2 separate regions of the Homo sapiens genome follow, and region 2 is linked to region 1. Evidence: promoter capture Hi-C in human tissues and cell types (Jung and others, 2019). All regions are on one chromosome and are shown on one strand. Each heading gives the region's core, a stretch centred on a gene start or on the middle of the fragment in contact. The rest is flanking DNA. Distances are from core to core; before and after follow the strand shown.

Evidence for each region. The method cuts DNA at HindIII sites, captures the fragments that hold promoters and counts their contacts. A contact is called where the count stands out against the background at its distance.
Region 2: a contact is called between a fragment that was not itself captured here and the fragment with the promoter of CEP89 in region 1, in 1 of the 25 tissues and cell types used here (thymus).

What each region holds. Positions count from the first base shown.
Region 1 is chr19:32,969,487-32,973,562 of GRCh38, reverse strand. It overlaps CEP89 (centrosomal protein 89), which reads left to right and starts at 1,605. Exons shown (of 19, transcript NM_032816.5): 1 at 1,605-1,727. The coding sequence starts at 1,689. It overlaps FAAP24 (FA core complex associated protein 24), which reads right to left and starts at 1,321. Exons shown (of 5, transcript NM_152266.5): 1 at 1,217-1,321; 2 at 261-379; 3 at 1-137. The coding sequence starts at 366. RefSeq lists enhancers at 1,148-1,197, 1,578-1,797 and a silencer at 1,338-1,467. The HindIII fragment of the contact is 5,065 bases long and covers 1-3,266 here.
Region 2 is chr19:32,936,409-32,940,451 of GRCh38, reverse strand. It overlaps CEP89 (centrosomal protein 89), which reads left to right. Exons shown (of 19, transcript NM_032816.5): 6 at 567-595; 7 at 2,779-2,821. Among named protein-coding and RNA genes, the nearest start is that of CEP89, 34 kb to the left of the region's middle. RefSeq lists an enhancer at 3,832-4,043. The HindIII fragment of the contact is 4,977 bases long and covers 1-4,043 here.

The DNA.
Region 1 (4,076 bases), core at 356-2,855:
ATTTCTAACCCGAACAAGCCTCTTTCTGTAGCCATTTCCTGCCACCAAATCAGCTTCGGTGACATAAAGAATGCAGCATCTGTTCGACAGATAAAAGTCTGGTGTCAAGCCATCCTCGAAAATGAGCTTAATTTTCCCTTAAAATACAGAGAAGAAAATGAGTTCCATAAGCTTTGGATGAAAAGATGGCAATAATAGGCAGATTTTTTTTTTTTAATATGTCAGGGGAGGAAAGGGCTGGCAGAGGGCAGGCCACCGACCTTGCATCTCCTGCGCCAGCTGTGACCCGCGCCATTTCTCATTGGCCACAATATGCCCCAAAGGCACGTGCACGGGGCCCGTATCATCAGGGGGGTTCTTTTCCATGGATGGTCTCCACCTAAGGAGGGAAAAGCCAGGCGGCACTTGAGCAGGCTCTCCTGCACACGGCCCTGCATTCCACTCCAAGCCAGGGCCTCTGGGGCAGGATCCCCTCTGCAAACTGAATTATTTGTCAAAGAACTGTCAAATAAGATTCCCTTTATAATTACTAATAAGAAAACACAGGCTGGGCGCGGTGGCTCACACCTGTAATCCCAGCACTTTGGGAGGCCGAGCGAGGCGGGTGGATCACAAGGTCAGGAGTTCAAGACCAGCCTGGCCAAGATAGTGAAACCGCGTCTCTACTAAAAATACAAAAAAATTAGCCGGGCTTGGTGGTGGGCACCTGTAATCCCAGCCACTTGGGAGGCTGAGGCAGAGAATTGCTTGAATCCGGAAGGCGGAGGTTGCAGTGAGCCGAGATCGCGCCACTGCACTCCAGCCTGGGCGACAGAGCAAGACTCGTCTCAAAAAAAAAAAAAAAAAAGAAAAGAAAAAGAAAACACAAAGGCCTGAATGAAGGCCAGGGTGGCTGGAGACGGGATGTGTGGTGGTGGAGGTGGTAATGGCATTGGATTCCAATAAGGCCAGAGGCACGATCAGATTTAAGTTTTAAAAGAATCCTGGGCTGGGCATGGTAGCTCACGTCTGTAATCCCAACATTGGGCAAGGCTGAGGCGTGAGGATCGCTTGTGCCCAGGAGTTCGAGACCAGCCTGAGCAATACAGCGAGATCCCGTTTGCCAATTATTTGTGGCGAAATAAATTCTCTAAGAACCAGGAGATTCCTGTCCTGGTGTCCGCGTCCTTCATTTTCATCACGTGCCTAGCCCCTGATACCCCAGCTGGATCCGCACCGTAGCTTCTCAGTCCAGTCCAAGGCCCGAATACAGCCGGCAGGAACCCCACCGTCCCAGTCTAGAGATCATGTTACTGGTGGCCGCGCCACCTTCCGGGTTCACGCCCTCGGTGCTCGCCCAGTCCTTCATCCAGCCCGCCCTCCGCCTCCCGCAGCGCCGGATAGGCTGTGGCGTCAGAAATGGACGTCTAACCTGACCAATAAGAGAACGGATAAGGGCGGACGTTTCCGCCCTGGCGGGGATTTGAACGGTACCCACTGGTTGCCAAGAACGACCGGTGTGGAAGTAACCTTAGCTCTGATTGGTCGAGGGCCGAGCTGAGCCAATGGCCGACGTGGTTGCTGCAAAGTCCATTGCGAAGAGAAAGCGTGAGGGCTGGGCCTGCGGCGGGCTTTAGGGAGTGGTCCCTGGCTGTGGATAGATCTGCTGATGAGTCCAGGCCCCGGTCCATTCTCCTCGCGCTGCAAGGATGCTCCTGGGATTTCGGAGAGGCCGCAGGAGTCATTTCGTAAGTAGATGCTCGCCCGCCGCGCGTGGGGCTCTGTGGGGCCGGGAATTAGGGGTAAAGTGTTGGGGCGGGTTGGGGTTTGGCCTGAGATCCAGTCAAGGGGGCGGCACAAGAGAAAGTGGTTTTCAGTTGAGGAAGCCTTGATTTTTCGTGTTCTAAACTTTTTTTTTTTTTTTTAAGAAACAGGGTCTCGCTCTGTCGCCCAGGCTAGAGTGCAGTGGTGCGATCATAGCTCACTGCATCCTCGAACTCCTGGGCTCAAGCGATCTTCCCACCCCAGCCTCCCGAGGAGCTGAGACTACAGGCGCGCGCCACTACTCCCGGCTAATTGTTCAATATTTTTGTGGAAACAGGGATCTTGCTATGTTCCTATGGTGGTCTTGAGCTCCTTAGCCTCCTAAAGTGTTGGTATCACAGGCGTGAGCCACTGTGCCCGGCGTTAACAATCTTCTGCCCCAGGGTCGGCCACAGTTGGACAGGAGCACCCTGCCTCCCCTGTAGCATTCGTCCCCGTGCCCGGAGTTAACTCCTGGACGACGTACACCTGCTGCACTGCTGGATATAGCCATTCTTCATTTTTCCCTCCTCCACCCACCATGTACACCCCATCAGCAAGTCCCATCCGATATACCCACTACATACATCTGCCAGCTGTTCCCATCTCCACCCACACCCCGGCCTCCAGCATCTGTCTGGACTGCTGCGGCAGATCCTCACTGGTTTCTCTGCTTCCACTCTCGCCCTTCCCCTAGGTCCATTCTCCACGTAGCAGCCAAGGGGATTCTTATATTTATTTATTATTTAATTTAGTTTTAGAGACAGGGTCTTGTCCTGATGCCCAGGCTGGAGTACAGTGGCATGATCATAGCTCACTGTGGCTTCAACCTCTTGGGTTCAAGTGATCCTCCTGCCTCAGGCTCCTGAGTAGCTGGGACTACAGGTGTGCACCACCACACCTAGGTATTTTTTATTTATTTTATTTTTTGCCTCACACTCTGCCAAGTCTCAATGCCTGGCTAATTTTAAAAATTATTTTGTAGAGGCCACGTGAGGTGGCTCTCACCTGTAATCCAGCACTTTGGGAGGCTGAGGCAGGCGGATCATTTGAGGTCAGGAGTTCAAGATTAGCCTGGCCAACATGGTGAAAACCCATCTCTACTAAAAATACAAAAATTAGCGGGCGTGGTGGTGGGCACCTGTAATCCCAGCTACACGGGAGGTTGAGGTGGGATAATCGCTTAAACCCGAGAGGCAGAGGTTGCAGTGAGCCAAGATTGTGCCACTGCACTCCAGCCTGGGCGACAAAGCTAGACTCTGCCTCAAAAAAACATAATTTTTTTTTTTTGGTAGAGATGGGGTCTGGGTATGCTGCCCAGGCTGGTCTTAAACCTTGGCTCAAGCAATCCTCTCACCTTGGCCTCCAGAGTGTTGGGATTACAGGTGTGAGCCACTGCATCTGGCTTGAGTTTTTATTTAAAGCCCCAAACATTAATGAGTCCCTGCTGTGTGCTGATACCCACAACTGACAGCTTATGGCCACACGGTCTGTAGGATAGACAAGCCCATAAATAATTCTGTACACAATGGTAAAACAAGAACTGCTGTTGATGTGTGTACCAGAAGGGCAGTGACGTCAGCCTGGAGAGTTGGCCTGGGCCTGGCAGGGAGTAAGGAAAGAATTCTGGGTGCAGAAGACAGCAAATACCAAGGCCTAAAAAAGAATGAATTATTTGCTGTTTGGGAAATGGAAGCCCACGCTGAGTGCTGAAGCACAGGGACTCTGCGCAGGAAGAGGAGGGGAAGCAAGAAATGAATTTGGGTCCTTGTGATGGCAGTGGCTGCTGCCATCACGCTGTGTGGCTAGGGCTGCACACTTCATGGAGCCGGTGGAAGCCCCGTCCCTCATGAGTTGGGACTGGAGCCGCAAACCGCTGCTGCAGACCCAGGCCTTCTGCTCTATGGAGCAGGCAGGAGCCCCACCCTCTTGGGCAGGGCTACAGCCACCCAAACTGCAGCTGTGGATCCGAGCCTCTCTGCTCCTGGGGGAGCCGGGAACAGGCAGAATTTGCCCTTCCAGATGCAGCTGCAGCCGCGCAGGCAGGAGCCAGGGACAAGTGGGAGCCCTGCCTCTTCCAAGTTGGCGGGGTGGGAGCTCCCAGGTGCAGCTGTGGCTGCCCCCCCAGGCACAGGACGAGGGCATCTCTGTAGCCTGCACCATCGGCCATCCCAGGAAGGACAGCCCCCTTCACCCTCCATCCCTGCAGGCTCAGGGGTGTCTGCTTCCACTGCCTGGCCTCTCTCCACTCCAGCAACTGCTCTGATCTTGGAGGGGAGTCGGAGCCAAGACCT
Region 2 (4,043 bases), core at 472-2,971, 33 kb after region 1:
TGTGGAGCGTGATGGGGAGGAGTGTTGGAAGGAGAGGAGGAGCCCGGCATGGGAAGATGTGTAGAGCGTGATGGGGAGGAGTGTTGGAAGGAGAGGAGGAGCCCGGCATGGGAAGATGTGTGGAGAGTGATGGGGAGGGGTGTTGGAAGGAGAGGAGGAGCCCGGCATGGGAAGATGTATAGAGCGTGATGGGGAGGAGTGTTGGAAGGAGAGGAGGAGCCCGGCATGGGAAGATGTGTGGAGAGTGATGGGGAGGGGTGTTGGAAGGAGAGGAGAAGCCTGGCATGGGAAGGGCTTGGAGACACTGAAGAGTTTGGCTTTGGTTCTGCAGCCACGTGAGCCACGGATGGTGGTCAGGCATGGGTATGGGAGAGAGATGACAATTTAGAGTCAGGCCCCAGCCTGGCTCTGGGACCCACTTGCCCTGTGACCCTGTGAATTTTATCCCTGTTCTGGGCCTTGTCGAGCTCCTCTGTAGAAGGTGAATTTCTATGATTGTACTTTCTGAGTTGTCATATTTCATTATCTACTTTAAAAGTTTATCTCTCTCTCTTTTTCTTCATCAGATGGTAAACACCCTGTTCTGAATTTAAAGGTAAGATCATTTTTTTTAAAAACTGATTTTCTCAATAAATAGAGTTTTTATCATAATTTTTCATAAATTTTCAACAACTTTGGTGTTGAAACTTTGGCGGTGATTTTGGGGCAAAAATAAATCTTCCCTTAAGAGTTCTTTCCTGTTGAATATTTCTTTTAAATGCTTTTTTTTTTTTTTGAGAAGGGGGTCTCACTGTCACCCAGACTGGAGTGCAGTGGCGCAATCTCAGCTCACTGCGGTCTCCGTCTTCCAGGCTCAAGCGATCCTCCCACCTCAGCCTCCCGAGTAGCTGGGATCGCAGATGCATGCCACCACACCCAGCTAATTTGTTGTATTTTTGATAAAGATGGGGTTTCACCATATTACCCAGGCTGGTCTCAAACTCCTGAGCTCAAGTGATCTGCCCATCTCGACCTCCCAAAATGCTGGGATTACAGGCATGAGCCACTGTGCCTGGCCTTAAATACTTTTAAAACATGAGGAAATTGATATTTTCCATAGTTTAATGATGAAAGTAATGTATTAAAGGGTTAGAAACTACTTTATAATTAAAATGAATGTGGAATGAATAGACAATTTTATCTTTTGTTAAAATTATTTTTTGAGACAGGATCTCCCTCTGTGACCCGGGCTGGAGTGCAGTGGTGTGATCATAGCTCACTGTAGCCTCAATCTCCTGGGATCAAGTGATTCTTTTGCCTCAGTCTCCTGAGTAGCTGGGACTACAGGCACATGCCACCACTCCTGGCTAATTAAAAAAAAATTTTTTTTTAGAGATGGGGTCTTGTTATGTTGCCCAGGATGGTCTCAAGCTCCTGGGCTCAAGCGATCCTCCTGCCTTGGCCTCCCAAGGGCATTGGGATTGCAGGCATGATGTGACGTGCCTAGCCTGAGATATTTTTCTGAGATGGAGTCTTGCTCTGTCACCCAGACTGGAGTGCAGTGGCGCAGTCTCGGCTCACTGCAACCTCCGCCTCCTGGATTCAAGTGATTCTCCTGCCTCATCCTCCCGAGTAGCTAGGACCACAGGTGCATGCCACCATGCCCAGCTAATTTTTGTATTTTTAATGGAGATGAGATTTCACCATGTTGGCCAGTCTGGTCTCAGACTCCTGACCTCAGGCGATCCCACCTGCCTCGGGCTCCTAAAGTGCTGGGATTACGGGTGTGAGCCACCACACCTGGCCTGGCCTGAGAATTTTAATAACTAATTTGCAAACATGGAAATAGTTCTAACTTAAGTTTTTCATTGTGCGATGTCATAGGAACTTAAAAATTAAACATTTCTCTGCAGAGTTAATTTATAACCTTGTCTACTTTGTCAGCAGAAATTAGAAACTTAATATCACACCACCATGTAAGGAAAAATTAACAAAAGTTCACAGCCTTCCCTTTCCTCTAGGTTTGGGGTTGAGAAGCAATATCTTACTGTTCCTTTCTCAGCATTTTGCAAATGTGCTTCCCTGCAGTTGATGGGGTCCTTTTTGCCCATCCCAGTGAGAAGAGGCCTGGCTGGAGTTTGCTGAGGGCATCTCTGCTCAGCACTTGCAGCCCTACCTAGCACATGCTTTTCAACGTGAGCCCACAGCCCGCTACTCACGGGATCTACCTGTAAGGACAGTCACTGAACTCAGTGCAGAAAGGCAGGAAGAAAGCTCAGGCAGGACTTCCTTTATAGCCTCAGAGAGCCCACCAGAGGGGAAGACACTTAAGGTCTCAGATTCAGGTATAAGAAACAGTGTAATCCCAGCATGTTGGGAGACCAAGGTAGGAGGATCCCTTGAGCCCAGGAGCTCAAGGCTAGCCTGGACAACAGGAGACCCCATCTCTACAAAAAAAAAAAAAAAAAAATTAGGTGTGATGGCCCATGTGTAATCCCAGCTACTTGGGAGGCTGAGGTAGGAGGATTTCATGAGCCCAGGAGTTGGAGGCTGCAGTGAGCTGCGATCACACCACTGCACCCTAGCCTGGGTGACAGAGTAAGACCCTGTCTTAAAAAAGGAAAAAAAGAAATAGTACATATTAAAGTTTTGAAAGCTAAAACAAACAAAGAACAAGAGTCAAAATGAAGGAAATAAAGCATGCTTATATACCTGCTGTCTAATGACCTAGCTGCGTGTGTCCACTTTATAAAACACTAATGCTCTGCACTTATTCCTCTTATGTTCTTTCTTTCCTAGGATGAAAAACCTCCATTATGTGAGAAACCTCCACCCTCCCCAGGTATTTGCCTTTTGAATTATATTATGATTGAAAAGCTTGTTTTGGAGAATATCCAGATTAATTTTATCTGAAAATAAAGATTACATTTTCTTTTTCTTGTATTAGTTGTTGAACTTTCACCCTTGCCTCAAAAGAGAGGGTCCAAACACTAGGTAGTGGACGTATGTCCATACAGGATGTGCTTGGGTCCTGGGAGGGTGGGGGTTGGACCTGGGGGGACGTGGACCTGTGGGATATGCTGGGATCCTGGGGGAAGGGAGGTGGACCTGTGGGATGTAATGGGATCCTGGGGGTGGAAGGAGGACCTGTGGGATGTGCTGGGATCCCAGTGGGAGGAGTGGACCCATGATGTACTGGGATCCGTACTGGGAAGGCAGGTGCAGTTATGGGCTCTGCTCTGAGGCTGAAGGCAGAGGGAGAGGTCTAGAGATGCTTTATGGGTTATGCCCCCTGAACAGTTTGGGGAGCTTCAGTGGCTTCCAAAATGGAGGTTATAATTTTTGCTGTTAGGTCCCACATTGTTACAAGATCTTTGGGGTGTCGCTTTTCTGGTCGGAAATGTCTGTGGTGCCAGTGTGCCTTTGCCTGAGTTCTTGTCCTGCGTCCAGGAAGAATGAGGTAAGCAGACAAGTGGAGGGTGAGCAAGACGAAGAGGAGCTTTACTGCATGTTAGAACAGTTCAGAGGAGACCCACAGTGGGTAGCTCCTCTCTGTAGGCAGGTCGTCCCGTTAAGTGTTCAGCTCTCAGCAGAGAGGAGGTCCCCTGGAGTCGATGGCTCCTCTCTGAAGGCAGGTCACCCAACTGTCTCTGCAGCTCTCAGCAAAGAGGAAGCCCTGGAGAGGGTTGTTCTTCTCTGCAGCTGGTTATTCTGACCAGCTCCTAGTAGAGAGGAGGCCCTGGAGTGGGTTGCTCCTCTCTGCTGCTGGTCCTCTGACATCTCCAGCTATCAGCAGAGAGGGGAACTCCTCTCTGCAGCTGGTCATCTCATCTGCTCTGCTCCAACTAAGCCCAGGGCTTTTATGGGCCTCAGAAGGGAGGAAGTGCGCACCGATTGGTCCATGGGTGGCCATGGGTGGGCCTGGAAAAGGCACCATAAGTTCCTACTGCAGTCCCACGGGACAGGCAACCCGGTCCCCAGCCTTCAGGCCCTCTCCGACCTGAAGGCGGGGCCTCACCGGGGACCTGCCTGCTTCTGCCCAGGAACCTGTCTCCCTCCTGCTG